2 separate regions of the Homo sapiens genome follow, and region 1 is linked to region 2. Evidence: promoter capture Hi-C in 16 types of primary human blood cells and fetal thymus (Javierre and others, 2016). All regions are on one chromosome and are shown on one strand. Each heading gives the region's core, a stretch centred on a gene start or on the middle of the fragment in contact. The rest is flanking DNA. Distances are from core to core; before and after follow the strand shown.

Region 1 (3,551 bases), core at 824-3,323, 210 kb after region 2:
GCACTCCAGCCTGGGCAACAGAGCAAGTCTCTGTCTCAAAAAAAAAAAAAAAAAAAAAAAAAAAAAAAAAAAAAGTAGCATGTTTATGTAATTCCTTACAATGGTCAACCAGAAGTTAATGAAGAAAGCCTTAACTAACCAATAAAGAGACTTTTTTTTCTTTAAAGTATGGTCGAAGCCAAAAGTTTTCAATATGTATATAGTTTGGCAACAAACCATGCTCTCTGCCTTTTACTAAGTGCAACAGCTGCAGTGTACAAAACCCACTTCCTCTCAGTGGCCACATCTCTGCCCTTTATTATTATTGGAATACTATAAACCTACTCCTATTAACAATCAGCACAATGAAAACTGTGCTGATGCCATTAGAGATCACACTCAATTCAACACTTTATGATTGGCTATAATCCAAGCACTTTGGGAGGCTGAGGCAGGTGGATCACCTGAGGTCAGGAGTTGGAGACCTGCCTGGCCAACGTGGCAAAACCCCATTTCTACTAAAAATATTAAAATTAGCTGGGTGTGGTGGTGCATGCCTATAATCCCAGCTACTCAAGAGGCTGAGGCAGGAGAATCGCTTGAACCCAGGAGTTGGAGGTGGCAGTGAGCTGAGATCACACCACTGCACTCTAGCCTGGGTGACAGAGCAAGACTCCATCTCAAAAAAACAAACAAACGAAAAAAAACCTTTATGATTGGGAATTATCTGCGTATATATGAAGAATGTAGTAGTGTAGTAGTTTGGATTATGTTTGAAACCAAGCTTCCTGTTAATTATTATAGCAAGTCCAAGTCTCTCAGAGGGAAAATTAAATAATAGGCATTATTGCTTTATATACCATTAGACTGCTTTAAGTGTGATACATTTAGGAGATGGCATGATCAATTCTTGGAGCCAGACAGAGCTAAGATACAGTTTTATCATTTACTGTGTTATCCAAAGTATATCACTCTCTTTGAACCTTAACATCCTCCTTTGTAAAATGCTAAAAACATCTGCCTATTGGGACTATTGGAAAACTTAAAATGAGATAGCATGTGTCCCCTGGCACAGAGCCCAGCACATGACTGGCACTCACTCCCTTCCCTTCCTCCAATCTGCCAAATACCACATCATGTTTGTTCTGTAATTTTTGTTTCCTTATGCAGGGCCAGGACTCAAATGTAAAATTTAAGGCGGTACCAAAAATGTGGTCAGGATAGATAATATGTTCATGCAATATTTTTAAAAATCTGAAATTAATGGAACAAATCTGTGGTGAACAAAAGATCAAACTTTTAAATAAAGACGGGATCCATATTATTGAACTTTTTCCTTTTGCCTCAGGCTCCAATATGGCCCGACATGGCACAGCCTTTATATATAACTCAGTGCAGGTTAACATATGAATTAACTTAGCATCCATTAAACATGTTTCCAGTTTTTTAAATTAGCACAGACTAATTTACATACTCATAAAATTGCCATCATTTTCAATTTTTATATATACTCACCAATATTCAGAAAGCACAAGTACAACAAACTCCTTAGAAGAAAATTCAAATTTTTAAAAAAGGTATAATGACCACTCTTGCTTATGTAAAATTGTTAAAAATACATTGTGCAGTTGTTCTCCACTATCCCTTAAAGATACCTGTTGTTTTATTTTGAAATAATTTTAGATTTACAGAAAAGTTGCAAGAATAATATAAAGAATTCTTATGCCTTTCGCCCCAGCGCCCAAATGTTAAAATTTTAACTATATTTGCTTTATCATATTGACACAGGATTTTTCTTGGCCCCTTTGCTAGACTCGCAGCCCGGGCACCCTGTCTACTTGGCCCACTGCACTCAGCCCCTGGCAGGAGGGAGCACGTGGGCGAGCGAGTATGGGATCTGGCTGGCCGCTCCAAGCACCAACATAGAAGCAAGCTCCATGCAGGGTCCATGACCAAACCAGGCATATTACCCCCAGGGGAATGCAGTGATGCCCAGGCAGGGGTGCCTATGACTCCAGAGCCCCAAAGGGAGTGTTACAATATGCTTATTAGCTCTTTTAGCTCTGCCATCTGCAGCCCAACAAACAGGGATGTGTTAGCAGCTCCATCAGCCTTTTGCCCCACTCTGGCCTGCAGCTCCGGGACAGGCATGGCCCTGGGCCAGCTCAGGACCACCACTGCTTCTCTTCTATGGGGTGGCTGCTCTCCATTGACACAGGCAGAGGGTCAGTGTTACAGCCTTTCTGAATATCTGGTCCTAAGCTCTTGTCCTGCATCCAAGAAGAATGAGGTCATGCTGACAATTGAAGGGTGGTAAAGGCAGAACATTTTATTGAGCAACAAAACAGCTCTCAGTAGAGAGGGGACAGGCGGGTCAGATCATCGCTCCAGTGTGGCTGAGTCTGGGGCTTTTATAGGCACAGGATAAGGGAGTGCATGCTAATTGGTTTGTGAGTATGCAAACATGGTTAAAACAAAGGCACCAGTCGAAAGTGGACATGGTGTAAAAACAGGGAAGGGTATATGTAAAATAGGTGAAAGGTGGGGATCAATCAAAGGAAAGCACACCAAATGGGAAGACAGGTTCTCAGTCTCATCCATGGATTTGACTTGTAGCTTGGACTTCAGGCTTTAAGCTGTTTTTGGCTTGAAGGTAAGGTCGCACCAGGGACCCACCTATGTCTGCCTAGGATTTCTCTGTCTCCTGCCTCTATCAATGCTTGTTCTTTGGTTCTCTCTCTCTCTCTCAATCTGTATATGTGTATATCTGTGTATATAGATCTATTTGTGTGTATATATACAATTGGTTTTGGAACTATTTGAGAGTAATTTGCACATGTAATACCCTTTACCCCTAAATATTTCATGTATATTTTCTAAAAACAAGAGCATTCTCTTCTGTAACTATAGTATAATTATCAAAATCAGAAAATTCACACTGATACAATGATATTTTCTATGAGTTTACTTGGTTTAGGAAAATGTCTTTCAGCCAGGCACAGTGGCTCACACCTGTAATCACAGCACTTTGGGAGGCCAATGAGGGCAGATTGCTTGAGGTCAGGAATTCGAAACCAGCCTGGCTTACATGGCAAAACCCCGTCTCTACTAAAAAAAGACAAAACTTAGCCAGGCATGATGGTGCACACCTGTAACCCTGGGCTACTCAGGAGGTTGAGACAAGAGAATCGCTAAAACCAGGAAATGGAGATTGCAGTGAGCCAAGATCACACCACCGCAACTCCAGCCTGGGTGATAGAGTGAGACTCCACCTGAAAAAAAAGAAAAAAGAAAAAGAAAATGTCTTTCCTGACAAATGTGTATGCCTCTTATTAGCTAAATAAAATGTGTATAAAATACCCCATTTCTGTTACTGCTTTGACTTTTAATTAAAGTAAGCTTTATACACAATAGCTTTCATAGTCTAGGTTTTCTGGTATAATTACTCTTTATCTTATTTGAATAATTCTTTTATTTTGTTTGATTTCATTGCTTCCCAAAAGGATAGAACCTGGTTCTTTGGAAATTGTAGAGCAGGAAAACACTTCCTCTACCTGCTTAGATTCAGTGCC
Region 2 (3,210 bases), core at 659-3,158:
TGTTGATTAAAATGAGGATCTCTTACTTTGGCCATTTGGAAACCACATTGTATCCCACCATAGCTCCTAACCACTGTACAATTTCTGCAACTCTCTCATCATCTGCAAGCCGTGATGTTTCTTTTCCTGGTACCTGGGATTTTGCCCTAATTTTTAACACCTACAGAGCTCAGGGAACACACATATATAATTTACCAAAAGGTTTTGGGGTGTGGTCCCTGGATGCTCCAAAGTGCATACAGTTTGAGATTTCTTTCTTTCCTTCTTGAAGTTCAGTTCTGCTTATGTTAAAACATGCCAATACAAACATTAGGAATACAACCATACCCTATGCAATAACCTACTTAGCCACTGACCGACACCTCCACAAATGACCCAACCATAGGACAGTCCTACCTTATTCCAGAGCTTTTATTCCACAAATGAGGACACTGATATCGAGACAGGTGGATCTCCTCCTTCTGAAGGACAGCTGCTAACGGTAGTCAGATGCAACCCAGCTCTGCTGGTGCCAGGGATTGGGGTGGTTTTCTGATGGCAGAGGCAGTCCCTCAGGAGGTGACAAAGCTCCTTTCCTTTCTCTTAGCAAGTGTGGGTGGCTGGCAGCTGAAGCAGGCCTTGGGCAAGGTCCTTCAGTCTGGTTTACTCATCTCAAACTCAGCCAGAGTTGAAGCCCAGCCAGGTCCTTGGAGGCCTCTAGATTTCCTCGTAGATTTTGTAATAGAAGATGTCCTAACAGAAACACAGGACTGAATAAATGTAGATACCTTAGAAAGTCATTTATTTAAAAAAAATAGCTGGGCATGGTGTCATACACCTGTAGTCCCAGCTGCTCAGGAGGCTGAGGCTGGAGGATTGCTTGAGCCCAGGAGTTTGAGGTTGCAGTGAGCTGTGATTGCACCACTGCACTCCAGCCTGGGTGACAGAGGGAGAATTTGTCTCCAGAAAAAGAAAAAAAAAAAAAAAAGAAAGAAAGTCATTTGTAGTATATTTTCTTTGGGAAAATACATTGAGTTCAAAAAGAATTTTCCAAGCTCAACCAATGTATCAATAAATTGGAGACTACTTACAACTCACTTCATTCCACTGAACCAGTATGGATTTCATATTTATATATGCAAAGTAGTACAATAGTTATTTGGTGGATGCAAAAAGAATGGTCCCATGCTCAAGACATCCGCAATAATCCTGGAGAGATGATACAAAGATATATTAAAAACTTAATAATCATATAAGGTAATGTCTGATGACATGCTCGGATGAGTGGAAGAGAAAATGGGCCACTGAAGAATGGAGGTAGTCAGACGTGGTTGAACGCTGCGGCTCCTAAGTCAAATGACCTGCGTGAAACCGCAGCTGCTCCACTTCCTAGTCGTATGGCAAGTTTCTTAAAAGTTCTCTAAGGCGCTGAGAACAGCTCTGGGCATTTTTGGTGCCCCAAAAATGTTAGCCATTATTATTACCTCTCAGTCTGTGCTTGAACCACCACTTCAAGAATGGGCAGGGTGTGAGTAGAGAGGCGGGAGTGGGTTTTGGAGCAGGGTGACAGAATCATAATGAATTGTCCTCGCGAAAAGCTCCACGAACTACTTTTCTAACTTTGTTGGCAGCTACCAAGTGTGGGCGGCAGGCGGCCATCCTCTTGGCCGCCTGAGATCCCAGCGCCTGTCCCCAGGGGGCGCTGCCACCCAGCTGCCGCCGCCCGGCCCAGCGCGCGTCCCCGCCGCCCACCCGCGCGTGCGCGCCGCCCAGGTGAAGAGGCGGCGGCCAGGGCCGCGGCTGGGGCGGGCTCCTCAGTGGGCCGGGAGGGGCGGAGCCGGGAGGCCCGGGCGGGGCGGAGCCGGGACGAGCCCCAGGCTGGAGGCGGGACCAGCCGCTGCCGTCTCCGTCTCGGTGTCCCGGCCCCTACAGCGCCCGGCAGCCGCGGCGGGAGGAGCGGAAACTGTCGGGTGCGTCCCGTTCGGAGCCGCGCCGGCCGAGAAGGCGCCGAGGAGCAGCGAGGCGGCCTCTGTCCGGCCCGGACCCGCCGAGCGGCGTGCGCGCCCCCTCCCCGTAGCCTCGCGGCGCGGCCTCGCCCCGGCCCCTCCCGAGCTCATCGCGGGCCCACGGAGCGGCCCCGGAGGCCCGAGCGCGCCCACCTGAGCCCCCGCGCTGGCGCCATGGCGGAGCAGGAGAGCCTGGAATTCGGCAAGGCAGACTTCGTGCTGATGGACACCGTCTCCATGCCCGAGTTCATGGCCAACCTCAGGCTCAGGTGAGGGCGGAGCGGCCGCGCGCAGGGGCGCGAGGCTGCGCTTTCCCGAGAGGGGGCGCCTCGGGGCGCGGCCGGATCCGGGGTGTCGGGAGCGCCCAAGCTCCAGGGATGGAGGCGCGGCCGGGCTGCGGTGTCCGGGGGTCTGCCAAGCTCCGCGGCTGCGCTTTCCCGAGAGCGGACGCCCCTGGGGTGCGGCCGCTTTGGGGTGCGGGGGGCGTGTCGAGCTCAAGGGCCGCGCTTCCCTGAGAGGGGAGCCCTGGGCGCTGTCCGGGGTTTAGGTGCAGAGGGTGTGCCGCGCGGGAGGGCGCGCTTCCCCGCGCCAGGTGAGGGATGTGGGCGGGCCGGTGACCTCATGGAAACTGAAGGGAAATAACTTGAACGAGAGTTGCGGTGGCCCCGAAGGCCCTAGGAGGACTGGAGGATTATTTTGGAGAGAGGCTGGCGTCTCATCCCGGCTTTACACTTGCTTCTTTTCTTTCTTTCTTCGCCCTTCTTTTTTTTTTCCTCCTGGCGTAGTTCCATCCTGTCATTCAGGATGCTATGGAGTGATCCCTGAGCTGTCTGTTCCGGGACACTGGCTATTTTTTTAGTTACTCTCTAAACGTAATTAGACACGTTTCCAGACATCGAAGAGACTGCTGTACTTGCCAGTGCCAAGATAAACTGTCTGAATTTGACAAGACGTTCATGGTTTTGGTTTTTTTCAAGGAGTTAGTGGATGGAGCTCTTGTGTTATTAACATCCTTGAGAACGTAGTCACAACTCAACGCCCCAAAATGGGCTTCCAAGATGTGGATTTGTTTTAGAAAGCCCTTTACATGCGATTATTTCACCCTTGATAGAGTAATATGTAAACAGTTTTAAAGTAGTTTGACTTAAACATTAAAGTAAGTGGAATTTCAAAATAGCTGAGTTTTGGTGTGCGTGTGTATGTTTCCCTGCAAGCTTTGGCTGCA

What was found. The method cuts DNA at HindIII sites, captures the fragments that hold promoters and counts their contacts. A CHiCAGO score of 5 or more calls a contact.
Region 1: a contact is called between a fragment that was not itself captured here and the fragment with the promoter of MYO1D in region 2, in 4 of 17 cell types (monocytes, megakaryocytes, total CD8 T cells and 1 more). The highest score is 7.2, in monocytes.

The regions. Positions count from the first base shown.
Region 1 is chr17:32,669,614-32,673,164 of GRCh38, reverse strand. All of the region lies in intron 16 of MYO1D (myosin ID), which reads left to right. Among named protein-coding and RNA genes, the nearest start is that of CDK5R1, 180 kb to the right of the region's middle. The HindIII fragment of the contact is 2,615 bases long and covers 766-3,380 here.
Region 2 is chr17:32,875,822-32,879,031 of GRCh38, reverse strand. It overlaps MYO1D (myosin ID), which reads left to right and starts at 1,908. Exons shown (of 22, transcript NM_015194.3): 1 at 1,908-2,254. The coding sequence starts at 2,160. MYO1D-DT (MYO1D divergent transcript) reads right to left here and starts at 2,177. Exons shown (of 4, transcript NR_184086.1): 1 at 2,139-2,177; 2 at 1,071-1,188; 3 at 397-732. RefSeq lists silencers at 2,189-2,376, 1,583-2,572. The HindIII fragment of the contact is 7,647 bases long and covers 1-3,201 here.